3 separate regions of the Homo sapiens genome follow, and regions 2 and 3 are each linked to region 1. Evidence: promoter capture Hi-C in 16 types of primary human blood cells and fetal thymus (Javierre and others, 2016). All regions are on one chromosome and are shown on one strand. The core of a region is centred on a gene start or on the middle of the fragment in contact, and the rest is flanking DNA. Distances in the headings are between cores, read along the strand shown.

Region 1 (2,888 bases), core at 103-2,602:
ACCAAGGAGAGGCAGCAAAATATAGTGCTTAGATTTCAGAGCTCTGGATTTACACAGGCCTGTCTGAATCCCAGCTTCTTACTAGCTGAGATCTGAGGCAAGCTAAGTCGTCCAATCTGCAGTTTCTCCCGCTGTAAAATGGGAATAACCCCCACCCCAGAGGACTGTTAACAGTGTGAAGACACTGTACATAAAGCTCTCCAAACAGTGCGTGGCATGTAATAAAAGCTCAATAAATGTCAGCTATTTGTCATTCTTTTCAGCTATAATTTCGTTCACAAAGCCTACTGCCTTTCTAGCTTCCATATAATTTTAAAGACATTCCTCCAGCCTTTTCATTTTCGAGGGATCTTTTATACAGCAGCTTAGAGCACACTTTCTAGTATCAGACTTCCTGCGAAAACCATTTGAAAACCTGTGCCTCGGGCTCCTCATCTGTGAAACGAGCCTGATAACACCTACCCCACAGGACTGCTGGTAGTAAGCAGTCCCCGAGTTACCCAACCTATCAACAGTATATGATTAAAACGCACTTGGGGAAAAGCAAAGCTGCAACTCTCAAACCCCAAACGACAGTCTTAATCCCAGTCCCACCACCACGATAGTGCCCAGAACCAATCACCAAGGTCGACCCACCTCACGCACCTAGTTTCTTCTCACCCCACGCAGCAACAGCCCCTCCCGCCCCGCCAAACAAGGGTTTTCCGAAATCGCAGGGCTGAGTCTCCTTCCACGGACACCGCACTGCTGGGGCCGCGGCAGAGCCCTCTTAATTCAAGGGGGTGGCCTCCCCACCCCGCCCCACAGCGCCGGGAGGCACGCAGTGCATCCTCCCTGCCTGGTCAGCGCCGCCCCACGCCGTTCGCGCTGCAGCTCCCGGCTCGCGTGGGCTCAGGGCCGAGGCCCCACGTCAGCCGCTTCCCGGACCCCAGCGGGCCGCCTCCCACCCTGCTCGCCGCTGCTCCTGGTGCCGCGGGCCGCCCGCGCGCACACCCAGCGGTCAGGTGCGGCGCCGACGACAGGGTCCCAGGCCCCGAGGCTGGGGAGCCCCTCGGGCCCAGCCGAACCGCACGCGGAGGCCGCGCCGCCAACCGGCTCCCGCCGCTCCCACAACCGGCGCCGCACTCACCGCTACGCCGGAGTCCGGGTTCCTCCGGCCTCGGGCCCGCGCAGGCCTGGCTGAGCCCCAGAGCGTTCACGCCCCGCGCCGCCGCCCGGGGATCCTGGCGCAGCTGTCGGGGCCGCAATGCGAGGGGACGAACGTATGCGACCCCGTCCAACGCCTCCTCGTCCCGGCCCCGGCCGCGTAGACAACTGCAGTGTCGCAGCCCGGCGCAGCCACAGCAGCGTCTGTTGAGCGGAACCGCCTGGGACGCTCACCCCCGGCCGGCACTCGTTGCCTATGCAGAGAGGCTGCCACCCATTGGCCCGCGAGCGGTGGCGCGTGCGGGGCTGGGCCTATCGAATTCGGGCCGGGGAGCGCGGCGCTGGCGGCCCGGGGCGGGGCGAGGTTACTACGGGTCATTCCGCGGAGCCGCCGCGGACCGGACCTGGCTGCAGTCTGCGCGGGGCGGGGGCGGGAACGGGGTCGACCAGGAGGGACGGACCGCGGGTGGGGGAGGGGAGCGGGGATCTGCGGCAGCGACGTGGGAGGAGCGGCTAGCCCAATAGGGTCTGCAGGAGCTCCGTCCCTCCAGGAAAAAACACCCCTCCACCAAAAAAAAAAAAAAAAAAATTACAGTCGCACAATTATTGCTGTAATGTATAAATTTCAATATAAATTATGAAATAGTATGCATATTCTTTTTCGTTTTTAACTGGATTAGTTATCCCGTTCTTGCAGAAATTGCTGTCAAATCCTGCCAAATAAAATGGCTTTTGGAACTGCCTGGGGCAAGAAGAGCCTCAAAAACTCAAAGCTTATCCATTATCATTTCTCTTGTTTTGGCCTCACTTGACCTAGCATATAACCCGTTTTCCTCTAAATGCACTCACCATGCAAATTTGCTATTTCTTTTCAAAAAATAAAGTTTACTCCAAATTATTGTTTTTGAACGTTCTTAGGAATCCACAGTGGTTCTGTATTTTAAGGAGTTTGCCATTGTTTCTCGTTTTAGACACTAAACAAGGATAAGAAAGAAAGCATCCAGTGCAGGTAGTAGAACTACATGTACTGTAAGAGAGAAGATTTTCACTCACCCAGTACTAGTAGGATTGGTCTCTTTTTTTAACCCAACATATTGTTTAGTTTGCCTGTGAACTTTTCCTTAAGTAGGTGAAAGGTTGCCTTCCTGAGCCAGCCTCAGGCTAAAGCAGGCCTCATTTCCCAAGAGAATCAAAATCAGGAAGCCGCCAGAACTTGAACTAGGTGGAGCGATGATGCACCAAGCAAAGAGAGCTCACTCACCGTGGGCCAAGGGCCAATCGAGAACCTAAAGGGATGGATACCTGACTCAGGCAAACTGTTCTCCCACTTCAAAATATGGCAGTTCAGTTGCTCATTAATCTGTTGAAATCTTATCAAAGGATACATCCTGAAGATAAATGGAATGCAGAATTTCTTATCTGAAAAGACATTCGCAGCTCTGCAGAGAGAAGCAGGCTTTAGAAGTAGTACTTCTAGAACCATGAAATCCTCTGGAAAATACTGGTTTTTTTCCGAGAGAAGAAAACTAATATTGCACCTTTTTATCTATCCATAAGCCTAAAACAGACTAGAAGAATTCCAACAATATCTTTCTTCATTATCTTTATATTATGGAATATATATTATGGATATGGACCTATATTTAAAAGAAAATGGTCCTGGGAATTAAAATTCTAAATTCTCATCTTGTTTGCTGTTTAACAAGCTAAGTAGAAATACATAGAGATACTTCAGAGACATT
Region 2 (2,888 bases), core at 142-2,641, 230 kb after region 1:
CCCATCATCAATGGTGAGTTATTTTATAAGCATCACAGATCTTTGCTGTTTCCTTTTAATCTTCAGCATTTCTGTAGAATTCTCAATAGACTTGGCTGAATCAAATTCAAATAACTCATAATCTGAGTATCTCAGGTCTTTTGTAGATTCTAATCATTCTTTTCATTCATTTATTCAACAACATTTTATTGGTGATTCTTATGTAACTTATGCTCATACATTTATAAATATTTTCTGATGCTAGGTTTTGGGTTCTATTATGTTTCTTCAAAGGTTATTGATGTTTTGGTTTTAGCAAGTAATTCACTTGGTTAAACTCAAAGTCAAACTCTGTCATGTCTGTAGTTTTTTTTCTTTTGTTTTTTTTTTTTGTTGTTGTTGTTTTTTGTTTTGTTTTTGAGACAGGCTCTTGCTCTGTCGCCCAGGCTGGAGTGCAGTGGTGCAGTCATGGCTTACTGCAACCTTAAACTCCTGGGCTCAAGCGATTCTCCCACCTTGGCCTCCCAAAGCCCTGGGATTATAGATGTGAGCTGCCGTGCCTGGCCTTGCCTAGTTATATAGTTAAACAAAAACTTTTAATTTAAATTTTGCCCTCTTAATTCCTTTCTGAAGGCTATTTTTATGAGGCAGTTTGAATGTATTTACAAAACTTAATGATGTCTGAGACATAGATGTTTGCGTTTCTGGAGGTAAGAAGGAGGCTTAGCTGATTTGCTATGAGAAGGAGAAGCTTCTTCTCAAGATCTTGGACCCTAGTAGTTACAGTGGTTAAGAACATGGGCCCCAGAGTTAACCAGTTCTAGACCCAAATCCTAGCCTTGCTGCTCATGATCATGGTCAAATAGTTTAATCTCTCTGAATTTAGTTTCTTGCCAGCAATTACATCATAGGATTGTGGTAAAGATTAGAGGAGACAACCTATGTTAAGTGCTTGGCATAGCACCTGACACATTGTATGCATTCAGTAAAGGCCTGTTAATTATTTTATTTTTATTCTTCAACTTGCAGTAGGAGCTTTAAATATAAGTTGTTTATCCCTTTGCTCTTAAGATGTTAGGTTTTTTTTTTATTATTTTTATTTTTTTGAGACAGAGATTTGCTTTTGTTGCCCAGGCTGGAGTGCAATGGCACACTCTCGTGCCATTGCACCATGTCGTGCCATTGCACCATGTCGTGCCATTGCACCATCTCGGCTCACCACAACCTGCACCTCCCGGGTTCAAGCAATTCTCCTGCCTGAGCCTCCCAAGTAAGTGGGATTACAGGCATGCGCCACCACGCCTGGCTAATTTTGTATTTTTAGTAGAGAAGGGGTTTCTCTGTGTTAGTTAGGCTGGTCTTGAACTCCTGACCTCAGGTGATCCGCCCACTTTGGCCTCCCAGAGTGCTGGTGGGTGTGAGCCACCATCCCTGGCCAAGGTGTTAGTTTTTAATATGTTTTACATTTAAAATGTAGTTTCTGTTTTGTTGAGCTTAATAGTGCACTTCTATTTCTGAAATTAGTTATTTTAATGTTATTGTTTTGTGTTCATTGCAGGGGATCATTCCAGAATAACAGTAAATACTAGAAATATTTTTATTGAATGCACGGGAACTGACTTTACTAAGGTAAGTAAAACTTTTACTCAATTTTTGTATGATCAGCTGGGATAGATTTTATTTCCGGACCAAGACTAAGTGGCTAAAATTTAAAATATGTGCATTTTGTAGGTGGGAACATATTTTAGAAATTTAGACAATTAAAAAGATAGAGATATTCTACACTTTGGTTATGGTGCTTTCATTAATTCGACAAATGTTTAGTGAGCACCAAATGTCTTTCCAGTGCCAAGAATTTAATAATGAGTTACATGTCTCTTCACTTCAAAGAACTCCTAGGGGGAGAGTTAGTCATATACGTAACTATAAAACACAAAATGGAATGAGTACTATAGCGAAATCCATATAAATTGTTTATCTAGTTGACTTAATTTATATGCGGAGTAATTTGGTACCTTTGTGTACTTGTTAAAATCTTAAAAAAAAAAAAGGAACTGGCGATGAAGAAGCTTTATTTAGTAAATTGATAGATGGTTGGTTTATGCACACAAAATTATCTAGAATATAATTCTTCACCCACTTTGAGTCAGTTCATCTATTGGAATGGATTGCTATGAAAGCTTTTTCTATGACATATGACTTCTTTACATATGTTAAATGAGGTGGCAGTTAAACAATTTAAAAAAGGTAACCTCAAATGGCAGGAGAAGGCTGGAGTATAGAAATAGGGCAAATAAATGGTATTCATGTACATCTTATAGGATTAGAGACCATTGTAAGGTATTTCCTTTATAACTTTTAGGTACTCCTTGCCTTCAGAAATATTGTCAGGGTAGTACAGCTTTTAATATTAATTTTTTAAAAAATTTAATTCGTGCATTTACAGACCTTGAATGTCTTTCCTGAAGCCTGTATATATAGGAGTGAAATATTTATATAAGAGTAAAGCATATATTCCAATAAGGTCACGGTATTTTTTTTCTAAGAATTTTTTTTGAAATAGAAAAATTATTTAACAAATCTATATGGTGTTTACTACATGCCAATTATTTAATCTTTGTAAGTACCAGACAAGATAGGAATTTTCATTATCTCCTTAACAGGTAAGAAAAGTGGTTTGCCTAGTGTCATACTGTTAATAAGTGCTTGAGCCAGGATTCAAGCAGCCTGGCCTCAGAGACTTAGGAGATTGTTAAGATTTATTCCAGTAATTAGCCATTTGTCTCTGTTGAAGCCCAGTGAACCTGAGGTTGGGGGTTGGGGAACGAAACGATTTGTCTCAGTCATGGATTATAACTGTCAGAGAACTGCGTAAATGCAGAACACCTGAAGATAAGGCTAGGCCTACT
Region 3 (2,888 bases), core at 163-2,662, 180 kb after region 1:
ATTGGTGTACCCCAACACCATGGGGACAGAAACTCCTGTGCTTTGGAACATTTCAGACCCCTACCTGGGTACCTAATCATCTATATCATTTATCATATCCATTATAATAAACTGCCAAACATAAGTGTTTTCCTGAGTGCTATGAGCCATCATAGCAAATGACAGAGTCCAAGGAGGAGGTCGTGTGAATCCTCAATTTGTAGCCGTCAGAAAGAAGCACAAGTGCCAACCTGGACTTGTGGTTGGCATCTAAAGTTGGGGCAGTCTTGTAGACTGAGCTCTTCACCTGTGAGACCTAGCTCCAGGTAGACAGCATCAGAACTGAACTATAGAATACCTAGTTGGTGTCTGGAGAGTTGGAGAAGGGTTGGTCCAGCAAAACCAGGGACATAAATTTTCAGTTTCCATGAATTGAAGACTTTCGACAAGGAGTGGTGGCCAGGTCTGTGGCTTCTTGAAAGCGCTTAAGTGCTTACACAGACAATTCCCATACATTAATGATTTTCCCTCTCTTGTCGCTACCCTTTCTGACTCCATTCCACTCACCTAGCTATTTACAATAAGTGAAATTGTTCTATAAAATCTCCATGAGCAACCTGCATCAGCCAAAACATTGTGAAAGCCACTGAATGTTTATTTACTTGCATTAAATAATGACCATAATTAAGAAATAATTTAAGACTTTAACTTGTATATGTATTGTTTCTTCCTATTCTCATCCAAAAAATTTTCATTTTTTTCTGCATGAAAACTGTTTCCATACTTATTTTAACCATTTAACGTAGTATGGAGAAAGTAAGTAAAATTCAGAGGCAAGCAAAAATCCATTAGCACCTCTTTTCCTTCTTATTCCCGGAGACACTATATTTTTTAAATACCTATCCGTGCCATCTGTAGAATATAAGAATGTAAGTGTAAATTCTTCTGATTTTAAAAATTTCTATTTTAAGAGAACTTGCCTCCCAGAGTTTTTAAGGATTGTGCTAAAAGACAAATCTCATCAGACCCCTTTGCAGAATTTTGCAGCCTAGTTTTCTTCATATGTGTGTTTATTCTACACTGCTTTTAAAAAGTGTTACATACAGGGAAATACCTTTCTCTTGTTTTATAGCACAGCCAATATTGAACCTACTTCCTTGCCTGATGAAGGCAAATAAATTATAACAAAGATCTGGCTGAAACCAGCCCCATGTTCTAAATCTTTCAGGAAGGTTTCTATAAACACAAATACTTTGTATAGTTCAACCTGAAATCCATGGAGATAATCCATAATAAAAGAGACACACTAGTGTTTATGAAAGCCCAAGAATCCCTTGCGTAATGTTAAAATGTACTTTCTCCAAATTTTCCAGATTGAAGGAACTAAAAAGACAAAATAATGTGAAAAGACAAAATTACAGCAAATTTAGTTATGGAGCTAATTGACTTTTATTCACTATTCATTAATCAGGGCAGCCTCCATTCTGCAAAATAGAAGGAGAGCTTTTACCGAGAAATGGTGGAACAGTGGGTAAGGTAGAAACAAAGAAAACAGAACAAGAGGGAAGAAAAAGTGGATTGGCTATTGTCATGTCACTTCAGGTTGCTTTTTCATAAAGTTAAAGCAAAGCAGACTTCCTTATTACACGGACTCAGGCAGACTGAATCTCCTGTTTTCAGGAAAACTGGTCTGTTTGGAGATCTACCTGCTTCCTTGAAGTTTCAAGTTTGATCATGTGGCACATAGGATGAGTGACTCCACTTTGGTTTGCTCAGGTCTGCTGGAGCCTAGTGCAGGAGCTCAGTCCAAAACAATGACTGCTCATAATTTCTGTTTAACACAACTAAATACAACATGTGGATTCCTTTGCTATACAGGACATTAGTAAGGGAACTTCTGAAATATGAATAATGTCTATAGGTCATAGTATTGTATTGTTATTTTTCTGATTTGGGTAATTGTACTGTGGCTGTGGAAGAGAAATGTTCTTGGTTTTAGGACATATGTACTGTAATCAGTTCAGTTAGTTTTCTACAAATTAAACTATAAGCTAATTCCAATCAAACAGCAATCCCAATCAAAATCCCAGGAGGGTTTTTTGGTGTGGAAATTGTTAACCTGATCCTAAAATGCATATGGAACTGATAAGGACGTGGAATAATCAAAACACCTGTGAAAAACAATACCACCAACAAAGTTTGAAGACTAACAGTATCTGATTTCAAGAATTATTATAAAGCTATAATAATCAAAACAACAGGGTACTGGCATCAAGATAGATGAACAGATCAATGGCACAGACTAGAGAGTCTAGAAATAAACCCATGCATATATGGGCAATTGATATTTGATAAAGGCACAAGGGCAATGCAGTAGAGAGCAGATAGTGATCTACCAAAAAAGAGCTGGAACCATTGGATTATATATATGCAGAAAAATGGATTTAGACACTGTACCACACACAAAAATTAACCCTAAATAGATCATAGATCTATATGGAAAACCTAAAACTATTAACACTGGTAGGAGAAAATATAGAAGAAAATTTTTGTGACCTTGGATTAAGCAAAGAACTTTTTTTTTTGAGACGGAGTTTTTTGATCTTGTCACCCAGGTGCTGGAGTGCAATGGCACGATCTCAGCTCACTGCAACCTCCACCTCCCGGGTTCAAGCAATTCTCCTGCCTCAGCCTCCCAAGTAGCTGAGACTACAGGCACCCGCCACCATGCCTAGCTAATTTTTATATTTTTAGTAGAGGCAGGGTGTCCCCATGTTGGCCAGGCTGGTGTTGAACTCCTGACCTCAGGTGATTCACCTGCCTCGGCCTCTCAAAGTGCTGGGATTACAGGCATGAGCCAGCACACCCAGCCAGATTAAGCAAAGATTTTAAAGATACGACACCCAACA

Evidence for each region. Contacts are between HindIII fragments. The CHiCAGO score rates a contact against its expected background, and 5 or more counts as called.
Region 2: a contact is called between a fragment that was not itself captured here and the fragment with the promoter of ACSL3 in region 1, in 6 of 17 cell types (total CD8 T cells, M1 macrophages, naive B cells and 3 more). The highest score is 6.2, in total CD8 T cells.
Region 3: a fragment that was not itself captured here is called in contact with the fragment with the promoter of ACSL3 in region 1 in 10 of 17 cell types (fetal thymus, neutrophils, M1 macrophages and 7 more); the score reaches 10.6 in fetal thymus.

Annotation. Positions count from the first base shown.
Region 1 is chr2:222,859,500-222,862,387 of GRCh38, reverse strand. ACSL3 (acyl-CoA synthetase long chain family member 3) reads right to left here and starts at 1,352. Exons shown (of 17, transcript NM_004457.5): 1 at 1,130-1,352. RefSeq lists silencers at 857-1,226, 1,297-1,626 and an enhancer at 1,343-1,637. The HindIII fragment of the contact is 2,380 bases long and covers 1-1,921 here.
Region 2 is chr2:222,630,324-222,633,211 of GRCh38, reverse strand. It overlaps FARSB (phenylalanyl-tRNA synthetase subunit beta), which reads left to right. Exons shown (of 17, transcript NM_005687.5): 7 at 1-13; 8 at 1,538-1,608. Among named protein-coding and RNA genes, the nearest start is that of FARSB, 24 kb to the left of the region's middle. The HindIII fragment of the contact is 1,318 bases long and covers 733-2,050 here.
Region 3 is chr2:222,678,622-222,681,509 of GRCh38, reverse strand. All of the region lies in intron 1 of MOGAT1 (monoacylglycerol O-acyltransferase 1), which reads right to left. Among named protein-coding and RNA genes, the nearest start is that of MOGAT1, 8.4 kb to the right of the region's middle. The HindIII fragment of the contact is 4,623 bases long and covers 1-2,888 here.